4 separate regions of the Homo sapiens genome follow, and all the other regions are linked to region 4. Evidence: promoter capture Hi-C in 16 types of primary human blood cells and fetal thymus (Javierre and others, 2016). All regions are on one chromosome and are shown on one strand. Each heading gives the region's core, a stretch centred on a gene start or on the middle of the fragment in contact. The rest is flanking DNA. Distances are from core to core; before and after follow the strand shown. Region 1 holds the start of FADD (Fas associated via death domain). Region 2 overlaps LOC338694 (a long non-coding RNA gene). Region 3 overlaps TPCN2 (two pore segment channel 2). Region 4 holds the start of LTO1 (LTO1 maturation factor of ABCE1).

What was found. Contacts are between HindIII fragments. The CHiCAGO score rates a contact against its expected background, and 5 or more counts as called.
Region 1: a contact is called between the fragment with the promoter of FADD here and the fragment with the promoter of LTO1 in region 4, in 17 of 17 cell types (naive CD8 T cells, naive CD4 T cells, naive B cells and 14 more). The highest score is 17.6, in naive CD8 T cells.
Region 2: a fragment that was not itself captured here is called in contact with the fragment with the promoter of LTO1 in region 4 in 1 of 17 cell types (endothelial precursors); the score reaches 7.7 in endothelial precursors.
Region 3: a contact is called between a fragment that was not itself captured here and the fragment with the promoter of LTO1 in region 4, in 16 of 17 cell types (endothelial precursors, megakaryocytes, total CD8 T cells and 13 more). The highest score is 24.2, in endothelial precursors.

What each region holds. Positions count from the first base shown.
Region 1 is chr11:70,201,251-70,207,498 of GRCh38, forward strand. FADD (Fas associated via death domain) reads left to right here and starts at 2,046. Exons shown (of 2, transcript NM_003824.4): 1 at 2,046-2,495; 2 at 4,883-6,140. The coding sequence starts at 2,210. The coding sequence ends at 5,223. RefSeq lists silencers at 2,456-2,535, 2,585-2,776. The HindIII fragment of the contact is 16,091 bases long and covers 1-6,248 here.
Region 2 is chr11:69,144,215-69,150,636 of GRCh38, forward strand. It overlaps LOC338694 (a long non-coding RNA gene), which reads right to left. Exons shown (of 3, transcript NR_104161.1): 3 at 3,014-3,526. Among named protein-coding and RNA genes, the nearest start is that of SMIM38, 8.5 kb to the right of the region's middle. RefSeq lists a silencer at 689-748 and an enhancer at 4,497-4,996. The HindIII fragment of the contact is 5,522 bases long and covers 1-4,437 here.
Region 3 is chr11:69,088,673-69,095,345 of GRCh38, forward strand. It overlaps TPCN2 (two pore segment channel 2), which reads left to right. Exons shown (of 25, transcript NM_139075.4): 25 at 1-1,925. Among named protein-coding and RNA genes, the nearest start is that of MIR3164, 8.8 kb to the left of the region's middle. RefSeq lists a silencer at 81-220. The HindIII fragment of the contact is 2,289 bases long and covers 2,691-4,979 here.
Region 4 is chr11:69,673,608-69,680,451 of GRCh38, forward strand. LTO1 (LTO1 maturation factor of ABCE1) reads right to left here and starts at 1,746. Exons shown (of 5, transcript NM_153451.3): 1 at 1,583-1,746. The coding sequence starts at 1,632. RefSeq lists a silencer at 1,328-1,417 and enhancers at 1,538-2,038, 1,908-2,107. The HindIII fragment of the contact is 5,284 bases long and covers 1-3,291 here.

The DNA.
Region 1 (6,248 bases), core at 796-3,295, 530 kb after region 4:
GGCACAGTGGCTCACGCCTGTAATCCCAACACTTTGGGAGGGTGAGGCAAGAGGATCACTTGAGGCCAGGAGTTTGAGACCAGGCTGGCCAACATGGCAAAGCCCTGTCTCTACTAAAAATACAAAAATTAGCCTGGCATAGTGGCACACACCTACAATCCCAGCTAGTCAGGAGGCTAAGGCACAAGAAACGAGAGTCGCTTGAGCCCGGGAGGCAGAGGCTGCAATGAGCCGAGATTGTGCCACTGCACTCCAGCCTGGACAAAAGAGTGACACTCTGTCTCAAAGAAAAAAAAGGAATGAAGTACTCATATGTTCTACATCATGGATGAACCTTGAAAATGATGCTGAAAACAGCCAGACACAAAATGCCACATACTGTATGGTTCTGTACACATGGAATGTCCAGAATTGGCAAATCCATAGATTTTAAAAAGTAGATTCGGCAGGGCACAGTGGCTCACGCCTGTAATCCCAGCACTTTGGGAGGCTGAGGCTCACTTGAGGTCAGGAGTTCAAGACCAGCCTGGCCAACATGGTGAAACCCTGTCTCTACTAAAATACAAAAATTAGCTAGGCATGGTGGCAGGCACCTGTAATCCCAGCTACTCAGGAGACTGAAGCAGGAGAATTGTTTGAACCCGGGAGGTAAAGGTTGCAGTGAGCCCAGATCGCACCACTGCACTCCAGCCTGGCCATAGAGCGAGACTCTGTCTCAAAACAGCAAAAAAAAAAAAAAAAAGAAAGAAAGAAAAAAAAAGTAGATTCGTGGTTGGTGGGGGAGGGGAGGAGTACATGCTAATGGGTTTCTTCTTGGGGTGATGAAAATGTCCTAAAGTTAGACAGCAGTAAGGGTTGCACAACCTTGTGACTACACTAAAAACCACTGAAGTATAACTTTAAAAGGGTGAATTGAATGGTATGTGAATTATATCTCAAGAAAACAAACTCAGCTGGCATCAGCCCCTGCCCCACCCTGTGGTAAAGCTGGGTCCTTGTTGGCTGGTGAGGGCTCTCCTAATCTGCACCCCCTCCTCACCTCCAGACCCACGGCATTGCTGCTCCTGGAACCCCAGCCGTCCCCTGTGCTCTGCTCTTCTGTTCTCCGTGTGCCCAGCTCTTCCCCCCACACCTAGGTACCCGGCCCCTCCCAGCCTTCACCTGCGCCTTTACAGAGGCCCCATCAGACCACCGGGCCCCCCACCCTCCACACGCCCACCCCGTGAAGAGACTCCCTTTCCCCTGGCTCTTCTGAATTTCTGGCATACTATACGATTTCCTTATTTTTCCTTATTTTTATTTTTTAATAGAGACGGGGTCTCACTATGTTACCCAGGCTGGTCTCGAACCCCTTGTCTCAATCAATCCTGCCTCAGCCTCCCAAAGTGCGGGCATTGCAGGCTGAGCCACCACGGCCGCCACGACCTTCTCTTCTGGAGCGTGTCGCTTTTGTAATTATGATGTAAACTCCGGGCACGCGGGGACCCTCGCGCTTCGCTCACTAATTTGTCCCCAGACCCTACTACCTGGCACAGTAGGCGCTCAATACTGTTGATTGAATAAACGACTGCTACTTTGGAAATCATGTATTATTTAAATCACATGTTTAAACGCACATAAACTTCTGAGTAGTGTTTTCTGCACACACAAGATGTCTCCAGGGGCACCAAAGAATGCATTTTCCACGTTTGTCCCTAAACGTTAATGCATAAGTAACCTTGGTCACCAACAGATGTGAGGGCACGTGACGTTCGGGCTGCGCCCTCCCCGCCCCGGCCCTGCACACAGTAGGGCCGCACCGCGCTTTGCAAACAGGTGGACTCGGCAGAGGCGCGACCGCCCTCACCGCAGAGAGCTGGGCCACCTGCAGGCTCTCAGGACACCCAAGGCCCCACCTCCCACCCGGAAAAGAGACGATACGCCGGGCGCAGGCGCAGAAGCCGCGCCCGTCCGCGGCGCCGCCAGCCAGGGCGGAAACGGCTGCGGCTTCGCTAGGGACGCATGCGCGGGTCCCTTAGTTTTCGCGAGATAACGGTCGAAAACGCGCTCTTGTCGATTTCCTGTAGTGAATCAGGCACCGGAGTGCAGGTTCGGGGGTGGAATCCTTGGGCCGCTGGGCAAGCGGCGAGACCTGGCCAGGGCCAGCGAGCCGAGGACAGAGGGCGCACGGAGGGCCGGGCCGCAGCCCCGGCCGCTTGCAGACCCCGCCATGGACCCGTTCCTGGTGCTGCTGCACTCGGTGTCGTCCAGCCTGTCGAGCAGCGAGCTGACCGAGCTCAAGTTCCTATGCCTCGGGCGCGTGGGCAAGCGCAAGCTGGAGCGCGTGCAGAGCGGCCTAGACCTCTTCTCCATGCTGCTGGAGCAGAACGACCTGGAGCCCGGGCACACCGAGCTCCTGCGCGAGCTGCTCGCCTCCCTGCGGCGCCACGACCTGCTGCGGCGCGTCGACGACTTCGAGGCGGGGGCGGCGGCCGGGGCCGCGCCTGGGGAAGAAGGTGGGCGCGGGGCCGGGCCGGGGGAGCCAGGGCCTGGTCGCCCGGCTGTAGGTGCTGCGAGGCTCCTCCGGTTGGCCTCCAGGCGCCTCCCCTTTGCCGGGTTTGATTTGCGTGGGTTTTCTCCGTACAGCCCTGGTTTTGCAGATGGGAGAGCCAGAAACGCAGAAAAGTTAACTTATTCGAGGTTGCAGGGCGTGGACACGCACAGTCCTTTTTCCTCCACCCACTTCTGCCCGGGTAAATTAGAAAACTCACTGAAGAAAAGATGAGTCAGAGAAGGTGTGGGGGAGGGGCAGAGGTTGGGTGAGCCTGCCTCGCATCATTTCCTTTCTGTCTCGGAATATGCTTTTCACGGCTGTCTGAGAGTAATACTAGCATTCAGTAACTCCTACCCAGGGGCTTACAGTGTGCCGCTTACCCTTGTAACTGCCAAATACAATTTTCGCAGTAGCCCTGTGGCTTAGATACTGTTAGCTATCACTGTTCCCATTTTACAGAGGACAGGACTGTGGCTCACAGGTTAAGTGGCTTTGTCGAAATGCGCAGCCGATAACTGACGGAGCTAGGCTTGAGCCAAGCAGTCCGGCCTCCGGATGGGTAGTGTTAGCCACTACACTGCCTCTCTGGTCAAGTTCATTGTGGAGTGGCTTCCTGTCCTGCTCTCGGTCACTCCCTCTCCACCCTCGCCTGTGGATTGCAGCAGCTTCCAGGATAAAAAAGAAACCCTGAGTACAGCAGAGTTTCTCAGCCCTACCCCCCTTGTTCTCAGAGTCGGGAGAGGCTTGGGAGTGCTCTGGGGACGCCTCTCAGAGGCTTCAAGCTGTAGCTTGGAATCAGCCATTCAGTCACCAATCAGATAGGGCCTAAATGTGTCACCATGGGTTTCACTCTGTAAAGACTGGTGCCTGTTGGGGACAGGATGGACAGAACAGCTCTCTGCCTGAGAGCAGTCAAGTCCAGATTTTAAAAAAAATCAGTACTGAACAAACAAAACAGGACGTAGAAAAATCGGGTTTTATGGATATTTAATGTCTGGAAAAACACTGATAAATTGCATTTTAAAGGCGGTCTACGAAACATAGCTGACATTTGAGATGTATGTGTGCTTGGTTTTATTTATATCGTCATGTAGTTACTGTGTGCTGGGAAAAGTACACCAGAAGGTGAGCGGTGGGTATGGACAGGTTGGTAGCGGGCGACTCTGCCTTCCTCCCCAGAAGTTCAGCATAGCGGTTAAGGGTCGACTCTGGCACCACACTCTTAGGGTTTCAGAACATGGCTCTGCCATCGTCTAGCTACACGATCTCAGGAATGTCCATTAGCTTCCCTGTGCCTCAATTTCCTCATCTGTACAGTCATGGTAACACAGTGCCCAGCCCACAGGGCTGTCAGAGCTGCGGGAGCTGGTACACCTGCCAACGGTGTCTCAGAATTGCCAGTAGTCCAAGCAGCACCCTGTCCTGCCTCTCCTTTCCTCTCTTCACATTCCAGAAGCGGCCTTTTATGGTCTTGTGACCAGCTCCCTGATCTCAGTGGTGACGTCAGCAGATGAGGAGTATGGTAGCCAGGGACTGAAGACTGGTGGTCACTCGGGGCAGCTTTCTAAATAACAATTGGAGTGCCTACTAGTTTCCTGTGATTGCCATAACAAATGATCACAAATCTGGTGGCCTGAAGCAATAGAAATCTACCCCCTCAATCTGGAGGCCAGAAATCTGAATAAGCAGGGTGCCACAGACCGGCACACCCTCGGAATGCTGTTGGGGAGGCTCCTTCCGGGTCTCGTCCGCTTTGTGGTGGCTCCAGGCATTCTTTGACTTGTGGCCGCTTCACTCCAGGCTCACACGGCCTTCCCTGTGTGTCTCCTGCAAGGATACCTATCATTGGTGCATCCAGGTCATCCAGGATGATCTCCTCTCAAGACCCTCAGCTTACCTTTGCAAAGATGCTTTTTCCAAAGAACATTCATGGTTTCAGCAATTTCACGTGAACATACCTTGGGGTGACATCGTTCAGCCTGCTGTAGGGCAGGATGTGGGATCAACCCTATTTTCTTCCCTCCCACAACTCCCCAGCCCCTCCCTCAGTGTCTCCTGCTCTAAGTAGGTAGCTCCACTACAACTTCCTTTGGCACTTGAGTCTTCAGTGGGCCACGCCTCCTAGGACAGTATTAGAGAGCAGGGGGTTTGGCTGAGGTGGAATCAGGCCACTCTTGGGCATTTGGTGCAGCCCCTTTGCTGCCAGGCGACTCTAGCCTCTACAGAGGACCTCGTGTAGGCACCTCTGTCCACTCAGCACTTGGCGTCTGTGCTGAAAAGCCCTAGGGAGGATTGTGGGGTCGCTTGTCTCCAAACCTATGGTAAACCGTTCTGTTCTTTCCTTCCCAGACCTGTGTGCAGCATTTAACGTCATATGTGATAATGTGGGGAAAGATTGGAGAAGGCTGGCTCGTCAGCTCAAAGTCTCAGACACCAAGATCGACAGCATCGAGGACAGATACCCCCGCAACCTGACAGAGCGTGTGCGGGAGTCACTGAGAATCTGGAAGAACACAGAGAAGGAGAACGCAACAGTGGCCCACCTGGTGGGGGCTCTCAGGTCCTGCCAGATGAACCTGGTGGCTGACCTGGTACAAGAGGTTCAGCAGGCCCGTGACCTCCAGAACAGGAGTGGGGCCATGTCCCCGATGTCATGGAACTCAGACGCATCTACCTCCGAAGCGTCCTGATGGGCCGCTGCTTTGCGCTGGTGGACCACAGGCATCTACACAGCCTGGACTTTGGTTCTCTCCAGGAAGGTAGCCCAGCACTGTGAAGACCCAGCAGGAAGCCAGGCTGAGTGAGCCACAGACCACCTGCTTCTGAACTCAAGCTGCGTTTATTAATGCCTCTCCCGCACCAGGCCGGGCTTGGGCCCTGCACAGATATTTCCATTTCTTCCTCACTATGACACTGAGCAAGATCTTGTCTCCACTAAATGAGCTCCTGCGGGAGTAGTTGGAAAGTTGGAACCGTGTCCAGCACAGAAGGAATCTGTGCAGATGAGCAGTCACACTGTTACTCCACAGCGGAGGAGACCAGCTCAGAGGCCCAGGAATCGGAGCGAAGCAGAGAGGTGGAGAACTGGGATTTGAACCCCCGCCATCCTTCACCAGAGCCCATGCTCAACCACTGTGGCGTTCTGCTGCCCCTGCAGTTGGCAGAAAGGATGTTTTGTCCCATTTCCTTGGAGGCCACCGGGACAGACCTGGACACTAGGGTCAGGCGGGGTGCTGTGGTGGGGAGAGGCATGGCTGGGGTGGGGGTGGGGAGACCTGGTTGGCCGTGGTCCAGCTCTTGGCCCCTGTGTGAGTTGAGTCTCCTCTCTGAGACTGCTAAGTAGGGGCAGTGATGGTTGCCAGGACGAATTGAGATAATATCTGTGAGGTGCTGATGAGTGATTGACACACAGCACTCTCTAAATCTTCCTTGTGAGGATTATGGGTCCTGCAATTCTACAGTTTCTTACTGTTTTGTATCAAAATCACTATCTTTCTGATAACAGAATTGCCAAGGCAGCGGGATCTCGTATCTTTAAAAAGCAGTCCTCTTATTCCTAAGGTAATCCTATTAAAACACAGCTTTACAACTTCCATACTACAAAAAATTTTCTATTCCTGTTGGTGGTTCTTTCATTTTGGATATGCTGGATATTCCCAGTACAGCCAGTTTGAGGATCCCTGTCAAGGGCTCCAACCTGGGAGGGGTGGCTGGA
Region 2 (6,422 bases), core at 427-2,926, 530 kb before region 4:
CTGCTATAGGTTTTATTATTATTCAGATATGATGAGGCCAACAGATCAGGAGATAACCATTATTGAAAAGATAGTTTGTTACTCACAGATCTGCAGGGGAGGGGACATGCTGCACCCCGGGGTGGATGGGGGGCACAGGGAAGCAGGGGAGTTGGTCTGGAGGGATAGGGACTAAGGGGAAAGTGTGGGCAAGAGCCTTGATTGTGGTTTCTGTAGGAAAAAACGAGTGAGGCAGGGCAAGTAGGCATAGGATGGGCTAGTTTGAATAATGTTACAGGCTCTGGGGCACAGGGACTGTCCCTGCCTGTCTGGTACCTGGCCCTGGGGTGATTATGGCAGGAGGATGGTAGCCCTGAGTATGAGAACCTGATAGAAGAGGTCGTTGCAAATGTGAGCTCTGGATTAGTTAGTTGGTTTACATTTGAAAGGTGCACTCACAGATGACTTCATTTCTAGAAATTGGCTAATCCTGGGAGGGGCCATCCCTCCAGGGTCAGCACGTTCCCAGATGTCAAAGCATCAGAATACAGGAAAAAGAAGTAATGGTTAATACAATGAAGAATGCCTACAAATTCCTAAGAAAAAGAAACAACCAAAGACTCAACTGGTACTTCACAAGAGAAGAAACCCCAAAGGCAATCAGCATAAGAAAAGTCAATATGAAAATGCAACCCCGAACTATACCGAGACACTATGTCTCACCCACCAGCTTGGCAAGCACTCAAAAGCCCGTGTTGGTGAGGATGAGAAGTGTCAACCTTAAACAGTGAGATTCAGAAACTATGATTAAATGTAGAGATTCTTTGAGCCCAAAGCATGAGGATAGCCACTTGGGCAACACTGACTCCAAACAAATGGGGTCACTGTTTCAAAGTGGAGAAGTTAAGATTTCTCTTACATAGGCAGAGACAGAGAAATTTCAGCAGGATTACAACATTTTTCATACACGATCAGTGCGTACAGTGACTTGATCGGTTACAGATTGCTGCATTCCAAGGAAAATACTTTATTACTCCATGAGGAGGGGTAGAAATTCAAGGGATTCTTATCTCTGAAGTCGTTTGGTCTTCTTAATTATTTATAGGGAAAAAAAAAGGTAGAAGTTGCAGTTGCATTCCATGTGACTCAAGTTGCATAGCCATGTTCCTCTCAAGGCTCTGAATACAGTTCCAACAGCTTTAAGTCTGAATTCTTTAATTTCACAGAAGCAACTGGAAGGAACCCCAACTAAGCTATTGTTGGAAGCGTCCATGAAGCCAGATGCATATTCCCTTCAGCTAAGCGTATATACTCGTAGGTATGTTCCCAAGAGAAACCTCTAGCATGTGTCTTTATTTAAACATTTTTGGTTGAGTATACAATTCTAGGTAGTCACTTCACTCTAGCACCTTAAAAATGTCATTCCACTGTCTTCCGCTCATCCATTGCTGTTGAGAAGTCAGCTGTGGGCCAACCTTGCCTCTCTGGCTGCTTCTAAGCTACACTCCACTGTAATAATCATTCTTGATGTCCTGTAATTTGGTATCTTGAAATCATGAGCCAAACTATAGCCAGGCTTGTTTCTATCCTTACTATCCTTGTGTTTTCATGGGTGCACAAAAATCATATCACAAACCCTCTGGCCACAACCCCCAACATCTGTGTTTTGCCTTCTGCCCCATAGGAGACACCCTCACTTAACTTTCCACCACCAAGGGGAGAGTCTTGACTACTATGGTACTTTATTACTATTATTACTATGTCAATAGTAATAGTAGTGATAGTAAAGTCTCCCCTTGTGTTCCCCTGCTCCCTCTGCCTCCTGACCAACCCTCGTCCTTCCTCATGTAGACTGCATAGCATGGCATGCCCCCTGCTCCTGGGAACTGTAAGTAATAAACTTCTTTTAAGGCAGCTGTCTCCATGTCTGTCATGTTAATGTACCTGATTAAAACAAAATCCCAGGTACATTTAAAAACACCTCTTGGTATTGTATGGTGTCACTATGATGTCCCCAGCTATGGATTGCTTATCACTCATCCTAGGTTGGATTCTTTGGGATGCCCAAATCTGGGGATTGATGTTTTTCATCTGTTCTAAAAACTTCTCAGCCATTTCCCCTTCAGATCTAGCCTTTGCCCTATTCTATTCTCTTCTACTGGAGCTCCTAGGACCATACAGTGTAGCTTTTACTCCACCCCTCATGCCTCTTGGCAGCTCCTTCTTGTCTCCCATTGTCTCTCTGTGCTGTATTCTGGGCCATAGCTCAGATCTGTCTTTCCGTTCACCAACATAATTTTCAGCCATGTCTGACCATCTGTTAGTATCACTTAATATATTTTCATCTCTGGAATTACATTTAGGTCTTTCCAAATCTGCTTGGTCATTTTATAATCTCTTGTTCTTTATGTTTTAAATATTTTCTCTTAATCCTTTAATCATGCTTATTTTATATTATATTCTGATAATTTTGACAGGTCTGGGTCTGATTCTACTTTCTGTTGTTTCTTCTGACAGCAAAAACCTTTTGATAGATTATGTTCATCTAGAGGTTATTCATGCTAACATCTCCAGCTGCACGGTGGAGCTTTATTTTTCTTCTTTTATTTTTGGTTTTCTGTTTTTCTTTCTTTCTTTTCTTTTCTTTTTTTTAAACTCTTAGCATGGTGGAGCTTTATGGCATATTCTGAGCAATGTCCTGGTTTCTATTGCCTTCAGTTGCATTGCCCAATGTGGGACAGGAAATCTCACATACACAACAGCTTCTTGTTTCAGTGCTGCATTGTACTGCAATATTTTTGAAGATTTGATTTAATTTAATTTAATTTTATTTCCCGAGACAGAGTCTTGCTGTGTCACCCAGGGTGGAATGCAGTGGCGCAGTCTCGGCTCATTGCAACCTCCACCTCCTGGGTTCAGACGATTCCCCTGCCTCAGCATCCCGAGTAGCTGAAGTTATTTAAAGTGAAAATTAGGGATTCAAACTTAGGTTATGAGTCAACCACGTGTGGGGACGCAAGGCAAACACCCGGTAGAGGTTGAATAGATTACGGTTTATGCTCAGCTGGGTTCATACAAAAGCAGGGAATGGCAACTTTATTTCTGTCTCCTCCTTTCTGCAGGATCTGAAAATGAGTTTTAATATCTACTAGAAGCTATACTTGATTTCAGAATTATCAAAGTATGAAAAATACATGCCTTAGAACTGAGGACTTATGGGATTCTAAGTGTGCTGTGCCTTGAGGGAACCCCAGTGGCCTTTGATCCCACATGGGCCATCAAATAGCGAGTAATGTCCCTACTTTGAGTGGTCATGTCCATTCTGAAAGGTCCACCAATTCTCAGTATGAGGTCCTCTGAATGTGCTGATGTCTGGTCACACACGGGGGATCAGTCAGGCTGGGCTAAGTCAGTTAGGTGACACATGACCCCATGGCGCAGTAGCTCTCAGCAGCATGGGTGGATTTCTCGGCCATGTTACGCATCCCACCTGGGTCGGCTGAGACTGCTCCATGCACTCTTCACTCCAGGCAGGGCAGCCTCCTTCCTGGAAGGAAAAGGAAGAGGGAAAAGAGAACGTTGCAAACCATGCCCTGGCTTATTTATTTATTTATTTATTTATTTATTTATTTATTTTGAGACAGAGTCTCGCTCTGTCGCCCAGGCTGGAGTGCAGTGGCGTGATCTTGGCTCACTGCTACCTTCTCCTCCCGGGTTCAAGCAATTCTTCTGCCTCAGCCTCCCAAGTAGCTGGGACTACAGGAGCATGTCACCATGCCTGACTAATGGTTTTTGTATTATTAGTTGAGACAGGGTTTCACCCTATTGGCCAGGCTGGTCTCGAACTCCTGACCTCATGATCTGCCTGCCTCAGCCTCCCAAAGTGCTGGGATTACAGGTGTGAGCCACCACACCAGGAAGCGACAGGAGTATTTCCTCCCTTATCTCACTGGCCACTCCTGAGTTCAGTAGGGTGGGGACAGGCAGTCGTCCTGCAGGGCAGGGAAGCCGGGGCATGGGGGAGGAGTGATAGAGCCACCTCCCCTGGCTCAGCATCTTTGCCTGGGGCTCTGCTCAGTGACAGGAGCCTGGGTGTGAACTTTCAAGTCAGGGATCCCAGAGGCAACAGATACGTTCCACCTCTCTGAGCCTCGCATGCTTTACAAGTGCCAGAAATGGACGTTGGATACGGAGGCACCGTGTGAGTTGTCACACCCTCTGTGACTATACAGGTTGTTGGTGTTTTCGTCTTTGTTAATCGCCCAACAGTGCTCACTGCTAAGGAAATGTAACAAAATGTAACGTGACGTTCAGTGTTCAGCGGGACTTGGAAATGTGTTGCACGTGTGTGTGCAAATAGGTTAGAGGTGGGGGCCGGCCACATGTGCTCTGCTTCTCGTCTGCCTTCTTGGAGCGCCCACAGTCATGTGTGTACCTCAGCCCTCAGCGGGTTGGTCAAGCTTGGACTTTGCCTGTGGAACCAATGCAGGGGCTGCTGAGCTCTTCTGATTCTCTCTCGGGAGCCTGGGGCTGGGAGGCCAGCAGCAAAGTGTGGGTGCTGGACTTATTTATGGGTGAGGCTGACAGTGCCTTTAGGCTCAGGCAGAGCAGAGGGAGCCAATGAGCAGAGAGAAAGAGAAGGTGGAAGAAGTCAGGCAGAGAGACCCAGTGCCTTAGAAGGAGAGGTGGCCACTGTGCTTCCTGGTGAGGTTCCAGGGGATGTGCCTGACCTAGCCCCCAGCCGGGGGATGTACCTGGGCTAGCCTCCAGCCACGGGATGGGCCCAAGCTAGCCTCCAACGGGGGTCATGCTGTGTTTGGAATTGGTTTCTTCCGGTGGATTCTTGGTCTCCCTGACTTCAAGAATGAAGCCGCAGACGCTCGCGGTGAGTGTTACAGTTCTTAAAGATAGTGTGTCTGGAGCTTGTTCCTTCAGATGTTCAGATGTGTCCGGAGTTTCTTTCTTCTGGTGGGTTTGTGGTCTTGCTGACTTCAGGAGTGAAGCCACAGATCTTCGCAGTGAGTGTTACAGTTCTTGAAGGTGGCACGTGGGAGTTGGTTGTTCCTCCCAGTGGGTTCATGGTCTCGCTGACTTCAGGAATGAAGCCACAGACCCTCGTGGTGAGTGTTACAGCTCATAAAGGCAGTGTGGACCCAAAGAGTGAGCAGCAGCAAGGTTTATCATGAAGAGCGAAAGAACAAAGCTTCCACAGCATGGAAGGGGACCCGAGTGGGTTGCCGCTGCTGGCTTTGGTGGCCAGCTTTTAGTCCCTTATTTGGCACCCCCACGTCCTGCTGATTGGTCCATTTTACAAAGCACTGATTGGTCCGTTTTTACAGAGTGCTGATTGGTGCAATTACAAACCTTAAGCTAGACACAGAGCACTGATTGGTGCGTTTTTACAGAGTGCTCATTGGTGCATTTACAAACCTTTAGCTAGACACAGAGCGCTGATTGGTGCATTTTTACAGAGTGCTGATTGGTGCATTTACAAACCTTTAGCTAGACAGAAAAGTTCTCCAAGTCCCCACTCGACCCAGGAAGTCCAGCTGGCTTCACCTCTCAATGCCTAGGCTAGCAGCTAGCCACAGGACAAGCCCCAGCTAGTCTGAAGCCAGGGGTCACGCCTGGGCTAGCCTCCAGCCAGAGGATGTGCCAGAGCTAGCCTCCAGCGGGGGTCATGGCTGGGTTAGCCTGAGCAGCCTCCTCTTCCTGGTAAGTGAACACTGTCACCCACTGACAATGGAGTCTCTGGGAGGCTCTGAACACATGTCGCTCAGGGTGGCTGTGAGACCACAGCATTTCTTTCTCTCTCTCTGTTTTTTTTTTTTTTAACTTTTATTTTAAATTCAGGGGTACATGAGCAGGTCTGTTACATAGGTAAACTTGTGTCATGGGGGTTTGTTGTACAGATTATTTCATCACCCAGGTATTAAGCCTAGTACCCATTAGTTATTTTTCCTGATCCTCTCCCTCCTTCCCTCCCATCCTCCAACTTCTAAACGGCCCTAGTGTCTGTTCCCCTCTTTGTGTTCATGTGTTCTCATCATTTAGCTCCCACTTATAAGTGAGAACATGCAGTACTGGGTTTTCTCTTCCTGCATTAGTTTGCTACGGATAATGGCCTATTGCTCCATCCATGTCCCTGCAAGGGATGTGTTGTCATTCCTTTTTATGGCTGTGTAGTATTCCATGATATATATGTGCCACAACTTCTTTCTCCATTGATGGGCATTTAGGTTGATTCCGTGTCTTTGCTATTGTGAATAGTGTTGCAATGAATGTACATGTGCAGGTATCTTTATAATAGAATGATTTATATTCCTTTGAGTATATACCTTGTAATGGGATTGCTGGGTCAAATGGTATTTCTCTCTTTGGTCTTTGAGGAATTGCCACACTGTCTTTCACGATGGTTGAGCTAATTTACACTCACACCAACA
Region 3 (6,673 bases), core at 2,585-5,084, 580 kb before region 4:
AGGCATGTATAAGCCAATGGGTGACCTTATTTCCTGTGTCTTCAGGTGTGTGGCAGGGGGCCTGGGGTGGGGAGGTGGGGCGAGCGAGCAGTGTGTGGAAAGCCTTGTTGTCACCTGAAGCACGCCAGGTCCAGATTGACCAATGGTTTTCTCACTTCAGGGGCCAACCCACGCCCCCTTTCTGCTGAGGTTTGGGTGCCATCTAGTGGTGGGATGGGACTTGGTTGACTACATTTAAGGTAAGGTGGACCCAGCAACTCCCAGAAACAACTCCGGGGACACCACTCCCCATCACACTCCACACCGAGCCTGGTGCCCGGTCTGTGCCCGAGCTCAGCGGGACCAGGAAGGGATGGGCCCTGCCAGGGTTGCCCCTGCACTGTGCATTCTCGCCTGGGAGGCACAAGTTCTTTCATCTGCTTTTCCTTCAGAGGTGCTGAGCCCACGCCATAGCCCCTGTGGGATGGTGGGGGAGGGGGCGACCCGAACAACAGTGCAGTCGGTATCGAGATTGGGGAGAGGAGCGAGTCCAAGGAGAAGGTCATGAGTTTCTTTTTACTCGTGTTGAATAATAACAATAACAATAACAATAACAATATGGAAACCACCGCAAACTTGGAGAAAAGTTGTAAGCACAGTAAAGAGAAGCTTCCTTCTGAGTCACTTGAGTGGTTGCCGTTCTGGCCCTGCACCCTCTGTGCTTTGGGACGGCGTCCAACCCGCATTCATGTCAGGAGTGAGTCGCACGTGGCTTTGTGGTCATGGCGACTTAATCCGCCTGGACGGTGGCTCCGTCTCCCTGGGCTTAGACGACCTTGGCACTTCTGGAGATAAGCCCATGGCTCCCAGGTTGTGTTCATGTGACGTTTCCTTGTGGTAGGTTCTGGGTCTGCGTTTCGTCTAGGAGTGTCACAGGATGGACACTGCCTCCTGGCAGGGGCTGCCCAATGCAGTTAGCCTCCTGCTGGTGTTCTCTCTTGTTGCTTGGTGAAGGTGGCCCTGGTCAGCTTCTCCACTGCCCAGTGAACGACCCCTTTGTAATGAATGAGTGGGGAGGTAGTGTGAAGCGATGCCAATATCCCATCCCTGTCAAACTGCCTTTACTTTTTCCTTCCTTCCTTGCTCCCACCTGTGTGGATCCTGGTCCCTTCTTGTATTCAGGGCTGTGGTCTGTTATGACATTTACTCTCAGGCTCAGGTCCTGCTTGTTTGGCCCGTGGGAGCCCCTTCTTCTGCCTTTTGTGTTTTTTTTGTTATGTACCTACAGTTCTTTAGCTGTTTCTTTACTTTCTGGTGCAAAAAGATGTTCAAGCCTTATTTTATACTTGCCTGCCCCTTTCTCTTTCATTTATTGGAGTGAGCTGCAGCTCTAAGAAGACCTGTTCTTTTGAATGGAGAGTAGCATCAGGAACCAGGATGTGGGTGCGAGGCGTGCTCCTGGCTGTTGCAGATTGCTGCACCCGGGAGCTCTTAGTGGACAGAGCTAGAGGATATGTGCACGTACTTCCATCTCTCTCTCTGTCTCATCTATTCACAGCTGGGAATGATACTAATACCTCCGATTTTAGCCCAGCACCACAGGGTACGTTCCAGTTTTTCTCTCTTTCCATAGCTGTAAGGCCCTTTCTGGGAATGGTTCTCATTCTCCTTAATCTATTATTGGGTCAGTTTTCCTGCATGTCCCCAGCCTCCCATCACTGCCACCCACTCCCCACAGAGATGCCCTGCTCATCCGACTGGGGCTTTGACTCCCACACTGTGTACCCCTCTTGTGTGGACGCCCTGCTGCCAAAACCTTCAGCAAACAGCTTTCCAAATGGAAGTTGTCACTGTCAGGGCCTTTACAATCAGCAACAGCAAAATCTACATGCTGCTGAGGGTCCTGCCTCATTAAGATGCAATAAATATGTAAGTACATAAAAACAGCAATAGAAGAAACGTAATGCTTTATTCTCAAATATGATGTCTACATAGAAAAGCCAAAATTATTAAGAATAGTAAGAATTCACCCAGCACTTTGGGAGGCCGAGGCGGGTGGATCATGAGGTCAGGAGATCGAGACCATCCTGGCTAACAAGGTGAAACCCCGTCTCTACTAAAAATACAAAAAATTAGCCGGGCGCAGTGGCGGGCGCCTGTAGTCCCAGCTACTGGGGAGGCTGAGGCAGGAGAATGGCGTGAACCCGGGAAGCGGAGCTTGCAGTGAGCCGAGATTGCGCCACTGCAGTCCGCAGTCCAGCCTGGGCGACAGAGCGAGACTCCGTCTCAAAAAAAAAAAAAAAAAAAAAAAAGAATTCAGCACAGTTGTTTGCTATGAGATTTAAAAAGTTTTTACTTTATTACTTATTCATTTATTTATTTTAGGGTCTTGCTCTGTTACCCAGGCTGGAGTGCAGTGGTGTGATCATGGCTCACTGCAGCCTCCAACTTGTGGGCTCAAGCAGTCCTCCTACCTTGGCCTCCTGAGTAGCTGTAACTACAGGCACATGCCACCAGGTCTGGCTAATTGTTTTATTTCTTGTAGAGATGGAGTATCTCTATGTTGCCCAGGCTATTCTTGAATTCCTAGGCTCAAGTGATCCTCCCACCTTGGCCTCCCAAAGTGCTGAGATTACAGGTGTGAGTCACTGCACCTGGCCTGCCCTGAGATTATATACTGAAATCAATTGCTTTTCTAGACACTAGCAATAAGCTTATAAATTATATTCAAGGATTCAGTTATATTCATTTTTTAAAAGATATTTAAATAAGATTAAAAATTCTTAAAGTTTCTAAAAATAAATGGAAGGAAAGATATTCAAGGCCTATATACAGAAAACTATAAAACTTCATTAAAGCCCATGACTGTAGATACAAGTAAATTGAGACTATGTAGTTTTCTGTTGCTGTGTAACAAGTCCCCACATACTTGGTAGCTTATCACAACCTCATTTCTTAGCTCCAAGCTGCAGGTCAGACATCCAGGCACGGCTTGGTAGGTCCTCCGTTCAGCAGAAATTGGGGTGTCAGTGGGCTGGGTTCCTTCTGGGAGCTCCGGGGAAGAGTCTGCTCCCATACTCACTTGGGTTGTTGGCCAAATGCAGTTGCTTGCAGGTGTTGGGCTGATGTCCGTTTCCTGCTGGCTGTCAGCCAGGGGCTGCTCTTAGGGACTAGAGGCCACCCACATTCCTTGCCATAGGGTCCCCTCCATCTTCAAAGTCAGCAACAAAGAAGCTGCCTCACATTGACTCCCACTCACCCTTTGAATCTCTAGGAAAAGCCTGTGTGGTTTACAGTTTCACCTGATTAGGTCAGACCCACCAGGACAACTGCCCATCCTTAAAAGTCCTGTGTGCCACCTAACATATCCCAATTCCGGGAGTGACTTATTCACGGGAGGAGATTATGTAAGGGTAAGGATCACTGGGGTCATCTTGGAATTCTGGCCACCACAGTTTTTCTATCTTCATGGTCAAAAAGAATTGATATTGTAAAAATGTCAGCCTTCTCCAATTTCATCCATACATTCATTATAATTCTAAACATAATGCCATTTTTTTCCCACAAAATTTGATAAGTTGATTGAAAAATTAACATGAAAGTACAAAAACAAGAGCAAAAATCCTTTCTGTGGGAGAATCCAGTTGAGGGAATTGCTGCTCCATTATTCCTGACTTACATTGCTGGGACAGCAGCCACAGCAGTGTGGTCCTGGTGCAGGAGCTAATCGGCTAAGGGGAGAGAGCCCGGGAGCCCCGCACACCGGCGCAAGGGCGAATCTACTAAGGGGAGAGAGCCCGGGAGCCCCGCACACCGGCGCAAGGGGCGGATCGGCTAAGGGGAGAGAGCCCGGGAGCCCTGCACAAATGCGGAACTGCGACGGATGGCAGCAAACCCGCAGGGAAGGGATTGTTATTTAATAAATGCTGCCAGAAATTCCAGCCCAGGTGGGAAAAGAAAGAAATAAGTTCCCTGTTTCACACCTAACACAAAAGTACATACCGACTGGAGGCGGGCTTAAGTGTGAAAAGCAAGTTTTAGAACGTTTAGAAGATGAACTCAATATATTTAAATTAAGAACTTCTTTCTTTAAAAAAGGCCATAAAATAGGCAAGCCACACACTGGGAGAAGATTTTGGTAACTGAGAACAACTAAGAACTTATATCCAGACCACATAAAGAGTACCTACAAATTAGGAAGAAAAAGACAAAGCAGTAGAAAGTTGGGCTTTTCACAGAAAAGCAAACACCCGGGTTCCATAGCTATGTCAAAAGTTGCTCCGTCTTACTAGTTATTAGGAATATGCAAAATGAAACTGAAACACAACATTTCACTCACTCCATGGTCAAAATGGAAGAGGTTGGACCATCTTAATTGTTAGTACTTACATGTTTATTCTGAAGAGTCAAGCTAAGCTGAAACAACCTCTTTGGAAAATTGTTTGGTGTCATTTCTTGCAATTGAATAGGACATACCTTGGTAATTCTCTGCTAGATACACTCACAAGAGAAACTGCTGCCCGTGTGCACTGGAAGACGGTCGGCAGAGTGATCCTAAGAGCAGTATCAGTACTAGCAACACATCTGCCAGCTGAAACGTCCTCAACAGAATGACAGGTACGCTGCAGCTTGGTGACAGTGGAGTATTACACGGCCGTGAACATGAATGAACTCCAGCTGCAAAGAGCTACCTGGAAGAATCTTAGAAACATAATGTTGGGTGAACAAGTTCCAGAAGTCTCCACACGGCACGGTATTATTCATGTAAAATTCAAAAGCAAGGTTAAACAACATACCATGTAGGCACGCATACATCAGTGATGAGGTTACTTCAACACAAGACAGCCTGAAGCCTGTGGTCCAGTCAGTGCTGAGATTACTTCAACACAAGACTCCCAGAAGCCTATGGTCTGGTCAGTGCTGAGATTACTTCAACACAAGACGCCCAGAAGCCTATGGTCCGGTCAGTGCTGAGATTACTTCAACACAAGACGGCCAGAAGCTTATGGTCTGGTTAGTGCTGAGATTACTTCAACACAAGATGGCCAGAAGCCTATGGTCCAGGGAGCGGCCACCTCTTGGGGAAATGGGGATGGGATGGGAAGGGACTGACTGCCATGAGCAAGTTCCAGGGGAAGTTCTTGTCCTGGCGGGGCTGGGCAGGGCTCATGGTCATGGTATTAACCTTAGGAACATGCACATGTTACATGTGTTCTTTTGCATGTGCCAAATATTAAAAGGAGAGCGAGAGGAGAGGCACTGAAGACAGTGAGGATGGACGGCCCTCAGGGAATCTCGCTGCAAAGGGGAGGCGGGGTCAAGAGGATATTGTGGTGGTTTTCACGTGGGAGGATCCTGTGTGGACTGATGTGGAAGACCCAGGGAAGAGCCAGAGAAGTGACAAAGCAGGAATGAGGAGGCCAGGCAGGGGTCAGCCACAGGGACGTTGCTGGGCAGTGGCAGGAGGTGCAGTGCCAGGGGCAGCAGTGGGGCAGAAGTGGGGCGGGGCTTGGCAGGGCTGGGCAGGGCCGGGCTGGCAGGTCCTCTGCCCCCAGGGCTCAAGCACAGGGCTGACCAGAGCAGCAGTTCTGCCGGCCCCGCAGGCCTGGTATCACTAGTGGGAGCACTCAGTGGCCATCAGGTTCCTCTCCCAGGTTCCCTCCCACATGCTGTCCCCAGTGCAGGTGGCTGGATGGGGTCCAAGACCCATGCCCAGTCTGTCGCTGGGGCCTGGGAGCGGGGTCTTAGCGAGCAGGCTGGGGCCTTTCATGTGGTCTCTGTCCAGCTGGGCACAGCAGGGGGAATCTTCCCTACTGCCAGAACGGCTTGGATTGGGTTTCCCGCCTGAGATAATTAGTGGTTCTTAGGAAAAGGTTAGAAGAGTTCTTGCTTAAAAACCACCAAATGGGACTGGGCACACTGCACTGCTCCTAAAAATCAAAGAGGAGGCGTGGAGCCCAGACAACACTCCTCACATCAAAGTGGCCAGCAGACGGCCCAGGGCAGCGGGCACAGCCTCCTGCACGCCTCTCCCCAGCCCTCTACTCACGTTTCAGGGTGTGTGTGGGGGGCCAGCTATTCTTCTGAGTAATTCAATCGGAGCCTCACAGGGTGGTGGGACCCACACCTGTGGGGGTTCTGGGTAGGCCTGGGTGCCTCCACAGTTCCGACCACAGTTGGCTAATCCACACCTGGGCCTGGGCCCCAGCAGCACCTGTTGCCAGGTGAGCCTGCCTGCCTGCCTCCCAGGCCCTGCAGGTTGTGGCCTTTTTAAGCACAGCTGACGGGCACACTGACTTGTGAGGTGGGCGGGGGCCCAATAACACAAGTCCATGGTGAACATTATAGAGTGGTTCTTATTTCTGAAGCTGAGACCTATGCAGTGCCGGGCAGGTGTCTGCCAGCGCCCCTCAGACATGAGCGTGCGTCAGAACTCCCTGGGGAATGTTGACAATGCAGATTCCCAGGCTCTGCCCCAGAGTTTCTGATTGAGATGGCCAGGCTTGAGGAAGTACACGTGTGAAAAGTTTCAGGTGCTGCTGCTGGCAGGGGCCACATGTGGGGGTCGACTGGCCTAGGAGCGCCAGCTTCCCTCCCTCCTTCCCTTCTTTTCTTTCGGCAAATTGTAAGGAGCACCCAGAGCTGCTAGGGGCCAGTTTGAAACTAGCAGTGCTTTGGGAGGAGCAGCTACAGA
Region 4 (6,844 bases), core at 496-2,995:
CAAAGATATTAACTCAAAAGCCTCACCCCCAGAGATTCAGTACGTCTGGAGCAAGGCCCTGGAATCTACTTTTCTTTCTTCCTTTTTTTTTTTTTTTTTTTTGAGACAGGGTCTCTGTTGCCCTGCCTGGAGTGCAGTGGTATGATCACAGCTCACTATAGCCTCAAACTCCTGGGCTCAAGCGATCCTCCAGCTTTGGCCGCTCCAAGTGTTGGGATTACAAGTGAGGGCCACCGCACCTGGCCTGCAATCCACTTTTCTTTTCTTGAGATGGAGTCTCGCTTTGTCGCCCAGGCTGGAGTGCAGTGGTGCGATCTCGGCTCACTGCAAGCTCTGCTTCCCGGGTTCACGCTCTCCTGCCTCAGCCTCCCAAGTAGCTGAGACTACAGGCGCCCACCACCACATCCGGCTAATTTTTTGTATTTTTAGTAGAGACGGGGTTTCACCATGTTAGCTAGGATGGTCTGGATCTCCTGACCTCGTGATCCGCCCGCCTCGGCCTCCCAAAGTGCTGGGATTACAGGCGTCAGCCACCGCATCTGGCCCGGAATCTACTTTTCAAAGTCTCCTAGATAAGTCTGGTTTGCAGCCAGAGTTAGGGGGCCAAAGTTCTGTGAGTGTTCAAGTAGCACTAGCCCAAGTCAACCGCTTCCAAAAAACTGCAACATACACAGGGTTTGACATCACATGGGTAGGGCAACAGAGAGAAATGGCATCAGATCACCACAAAATGTTCTCCGACTGGTACCCGGAGTAGCACTGACCCTGAGGCCCAACAGTGGAACTGCCACTATCTTAACCTGCAGTCACCAAACATGCAAGGAGTGGGCTGCAGCGCCCCATGAAGCAGGGTGCATAGCTCCCCACTTAATAGTTGTGTGACCCTGGAAAGTGACTGTGCCTCCTAGTCTGTAAATTCCGAAGAATAATAGGATCCACTTACTAAGTAGGGCTGAAGTAGATAACCAGGGTGGAACGTTTAGCTCAGTGTCTGACTCACAGCGCGAGCTAAATAAACGTCAGCGCCTGACTGCTAAATGTTCGGCCGCTTTCTTAACTAACATCTATGGACGCGTCCTCTGGGCCGGGCACTGGAAGTCAGCCAGGAGGCAACTCACAGCTCCCCCACTGTCGCAGCACGAGGGGCTCCCCAGGGGCTCTGGAGGGAAAAGGGGTGTGGTCGGGTACATCTATCAGCACATCCATGAATACTGCCGTATGTCCTATGATTAAGGAACCAGAAAAAAAGGCAGCTCCCAGATGGCAAAGGTCTGTCCTCCCAGAGGACGAGGCGGCCTCGGAGGAGGGGAACCACCAGGCTGAGCAGATGTTTGGGGCAGCCCTGACAGGGAAGGCGGGTCTGGAAGAGCAGCTGGGCACGTGCCCCGCCGGAGCGGGCCAGGAGAAGAGGACCAGAGCATCAGGCCCACACTTGTCCCTGCGTCCACGGCCACCAGGCGCTCCCCAATGCGCACGCCCAAGGGACGCCAGGCTCCAGCAGCCGCCCTGGGCCGCAGCCGGCGGCGAAGCCGCTGGGAGACGACCAGACAGGGCGGGGTGCGGGCCCGGCCTCACCACCCACCTCTCATCCGCCATCACGATGGCATCGAATATGTCCTGACTGCCAGCCATAGCGGCAAGCAGCCCGCCCTTGGCCCCCGGGTTTCTGCAGCCCCGCGGTGCCGTAGCAGACCCGGCAGCTTCAGGCACAAATGCTCCGCTTGGGAGGAGACGAGACCCACTTCCGGAAGCGGCGGCGCGGGGCAGGCCGGGTAAGAACGGCACGCGGGAGGGCCCAAAGCAGCCTGTACATGGCGCATGCGCGGCTGCAGCGGTGGGCGGGGCCGGCCTCGACTGAAGCCCCGCCCTGGGGTCCTTTCGCCCTGCCCAGCTCCAGCAAAGGGCCTGTCTGTCCGCGCTGGGAGCGTCCATTGGCCGCGCGCGTGGAGAGCCGACCTGTATTTTACCACTGCAGATAGAACCGAATTTCCCAAAGTGGCTCCGAAAGAACCAAGGAAGAAATGGGAAGTCATCAGCTGGCGCGGTGGCTCACGCCTGTCATCCCAGCACTTTGGGAGGCCGAGGCGCGCGGATCACCTGAGTTCGGGAGTTCGAGACCAGCCTGGCCAACATGGTGAAACCTCGTCTTTACTGAAAATACAAAAATTAGCCGGGCATGGTGGCAGGCGCCTGTAATCCCAGCTACTCGGGAGGCTGAGGCAGGAGAATCACTGGAAGCTGGGAGGCGGAGGTTGCAGTGAGCCGAGATCGCACCACTGCACTCCAGACTGGCGACAGAGCCAGACTCCGTCAAAAAAAAAAAAAAAAAGGGAAAAGAAATGGGAAGTCATCAAAGAACCGACGCCTCAGGAGGCTCCAGGCCAGGAGGCTCTGCATGTGGGATTTTGGGCAGAAATTTGTCGGTTTTAGTTCTCATATTTGTCATTTCCATGAGATGTGCTTTCTGAACACGATTTTTAAAAAGGGATTTCAAAGTCTAAGCGACAACGGAACTCAGATGAGAAACACCAGAAGCATTCCTAATAAAGTCAGTAGTAAAACCTCACGTGACCACTGAACATCTTTCTACCAGCCCTGGCCAATGCAGTAAAACATGAAGCAAGAAGTGGAAATACCAAAAAAAAAAAAAAAAAAAAAAAAAGGCAGAAATACTACTATTTGCAGATATGATGGCCCACGTGGAAAACCCAAATAGTCACCTAAGACGTTCTCAGAATCCATAATCGCAGCAAGTAGCTATGTGTATGATGAATAGGGAAAAAAACACTTTCTGTTATTCCAACAATAATTGGTAGTAACCTGAGCAGGGGTGGTGATGGGAAAATCGCCTTATGATAGTCATAATACATTTCTTAGAAATAAGAATTTCTAACAATTTGAGCAGGACCCATATAAGGAAAACTACAGCTCTACCATGATTGAGGATTGGGGAACTGAACAAGTGCAGTACCAAAGAAAATTCCATGAGATCTGGTAAAATGTGTCAAAATCCTAAACTTTTTCATCCGTATGAATAAACTAATAAAAATAACTAAGATGTTTTAGAAAAAAATGATTTTCATATCAGATATGAAAAGATAAAGTGTCAATATAAATATTGTGGTATGTTGGTTCAAGAAGTGGCAGACCAGTGAAATAAAGTAAATGGCCCAGACAATGGACTCTCATAGATGTAAAGCCTTCTCATGTGGTAAAAAGAAGAATTACAAATTAATTGGAGAAAGGAAATATTAACTAATAACTATAATGGAAAATTGGTTGTTTGGGAAAAGCTTGGTTCCATTTATGCCTCACACCATTCATCAAAATAATTCCAGATGAGTTAAAGAGTTAACTTAAAAAAATTAAGCACATTGGCTGGGCACGGTGGCTCACGCCTGTAATCCCAGCACTTTGGGAGGCCCAGGCAGGTGGATAACCAGAGTTAGGGAGTTCGAGACCAGCCTGACCAACATGGAGAAACCCCGTCTGTACTAAAACTACAAAATTAGCCTGGCGTGGTGGTGCATGCCTGTAAGCCCAGCTACTCGGGAGGCTGAGGCAGGAGAACCCAGGAGACAGAGGTTGCAGTGAGCCGAGATCACACCATTGCACCCCAGCCTGGGCAACAAGAGCAAAACTCCATCTCTAAATAAATAAATGAATAAAGCACATTTTGCCTGTAATCCCAGCACTTTGGGAGGCCGAGGCGGGCGGATCATGAGGTCAGGAGATCGAGACCATCCTGGCTAACATGGTGAAACCCCGTCTCTACCAAAAAATACAAAAAAAAAAAATTAGTGGGGCATGGTGACGTGTACCTGTAGTCCCAGCTACTTGGGAGGCTGAGGCAGGAGAATGGCATGAACCTGGGAAGTGGAGCTTGCAATGAGCCGAGATCGCGCTACTCTACTCCAGCCTGGGTGACAGAGCGAGACTCTATCTCAAAAAAAATAAAATAAAATAAAAATAAATAAATAAATAAATAAAATAAAGTACATTAAAAAATCTAGGTGGAACATTCAGACAAGTATGAAGATGCTCTTTTAACACATAAAAGCCATGAAGGAATTCTCAGCAAGCAAAACCAACATTTTACCATGTAAAAATGCAAACTTGTGTGTACCAAAAGTGATAAGAAACAAAATTTAAAGTTAAAGAACAATATGGGGAAATATTTGTCATAAATATTGTAACTAAAGAAATAATAATTCTGGTAAAGAGTTTATTTAAATACATGTATTTATTTAAATAAATACATCCTAACGGGGAAAAAAAAGGACTTGAAACATTATTCACAGAAAGAGCAACAGCTGGCCAATCAGGAAAAGCAGACGCAGCCTCACTAGTAACCAAAGCAATGCTGAGAAAGAATAATGAGATGCATTTTTTATCTTTTAAAATAGCTTAAGTTCTTTTTCTCCTTTTTTAGAATTAAAAGATACTCTTAATGAGCACAAGTGCATACATTGAAGACACCTCTTGGTCAGGCAGTTCAAAAACATAGGAAGGGCATTATATATATATATATTTTGTTTGTTTGTTTGTTTGTTTGTTTGTTTGTTTTTACTAGCTAGGCGTGGTGGGTCACGCCTGTAATCCCAGCACTTTGGGAAGTCAAGGTGGGTGGATCACCTGAGGTCACCAGTTCCAGATCAGCCTGGCCAAACAGTGAAACTTCGTCTCTACTAAAAACAAAAATTAGCCGGGTGTGGTGGCACGCTCCTGTAGTCCCAGCTATTCTAGAGGCTGAGGCAGGAGAATTGCTTGAACCTGGGAGGTGGAGGTTGCAGTGAGCCGAGATTGTGCCACTGCACTCCAGACTGGGCGACAGAATGAGACTCTGCCTCAAAAATAGAATAAAAAAGTTTTTTTTTGCCCCTGGACCTAGTCATTTCACTTCTAAGACTTCATCTCTAGGAAATAATCAAAGACAAGTCAAAATATTATGTACAGTGTTGTTCAGTGCAACACGATTTGTAAAAGGCAAGGCAAGGAAAGCAGCTACATTGACAAAATGGTGGAATTATGACATGTATTGTAGGCTATTCATGTTGAAGACTCCTAAGCAACCATTACAAATAATATTTCAACAAAAGTAACATCATGGAAAATGCCCATGATATTTCAAGAAAAAGAAAAAAAAATCCTCTATGTGAGGCTGCAGTGAGCTATGACCATACCACTCCACTGCAGCCAGGCCAGGGCAACAGAGTGAAATCTCATCTCAAAAACATAAAAAGAAAGAAAAAGAAAAAGAAAAAAAAACACTCTACATATACTCGAATTGCAATCACACTAAACACTATTTCAAAAGAATGAGAGTAGCCAGGTGAGGTGACTCACACGTATAATCCAACACTTTGGGAGGCCAAGGTGGAAAGATTGCTTGAACCCAGAGTTCAAGACCAAGCTAGGTAACATAGTGAGACTTCATCTCTACAAAAAAATAGAAAAAATTAGCCAGGCACGGTAGTGTGCTCCTGTAGTCCCAGCTACTTGGGAGGCTAAGGCGAGAGGATTGCTTGTTCTCAGGAAATTGAGGCTGCAGTAAACCGTGATCGTGCCACTGCACTCCAGCCTGGGCAACAGAACGAGACCCTATCTCAAACAAAACAAACAAACAAACAAACAAACAAAAAACCAGAAAAGAAAAAAGGAAGAGAAAAAAGAGTGAAAGCAAGTACAGCAAAATGTTCATAGAGAATATAGCTAGATTTTGGAATGACAGTGATTTTTTTAATGTCCTCATTTATATTTTTTGGAACATCTCATGTTTGTTTGCACAATGAACATAAGTTATGTTATAAGCATAAAAAAATGTTTTTGGTGGATGAAATTAAATAGACTTCGTATTATTTTGTTCTGAAGATGTCTTTAATTTTTAGGTTTTTTAAATAAGCAAATGAAATCACACAACACTTGGAATATAGGAAAAAGGGAAAGACAGCAAGCCAAAAAAAACAGTTCACCCTGTCCACCAACTGATTTTTGCTAATTTTATTATTTTTCCCTTGAATTTTCATATAAACATAATTTAATATATAAACAATGTAATATCCTTCTCCCTGCCCACTTAACATTAGATTACAAACACCTCCCAAATAAGGGAACTGTTCTCTTATCAGTACATATTTAAAACACATTTTTGAGCATAAATTTCATTAGCTGAAATAAAATAAAATAAATATATCTTTTGGATAGGAAAATAGATAACGCGGTGAGAAAAATAAATGACCACTTACAGAATAAAGCCCGTGGACATGGAGGCTTATACAGAAGAGCGTAGGTTTTAATTTCTAACTTCAAAAATATTTGCAAAGCCTTGAACAATTATATGTGCTACAAAAATCAACACTATTGATACAAATTATTAATCTGAAATAAAGCTTTGGGGAGATTTTCTGTCCCCAATCATCAATTTGTTCATCTGGTTTGTTCTTAAAATATTTATTTTGAAGCCAGACTGTCTTAGCATTAAAGACAAAGAAGGGCCGGGTGTGGTGGCTCACGCCTGTAATCCCAGCACTTTAGGAGGCCGAGGTGGGTGGATCATCTGAGGTCAGGAGTTCAAAACCAACCTGGCCAACATGGTGAAACCCTGTCTCTACTAAAAATACAAAATTATCTGGGCATGGTGGCTCATGCCTGTAATCCCAGCTAGTTAGGAGGCTGAGGCAGGAGAATTGCTTGAACCTGGGAGGTGGAGGTTGTAGTGAGCCAAAATCGTGCCATTGCACTCCAGCCTGGGCATCAAGAGTGAAACTCTGTCTCAAATAAAAAATAAATAAATAAAATAAAAAATAAAGGCAAAGAGCCTGATTCCATTATCCTGGATTTCCAA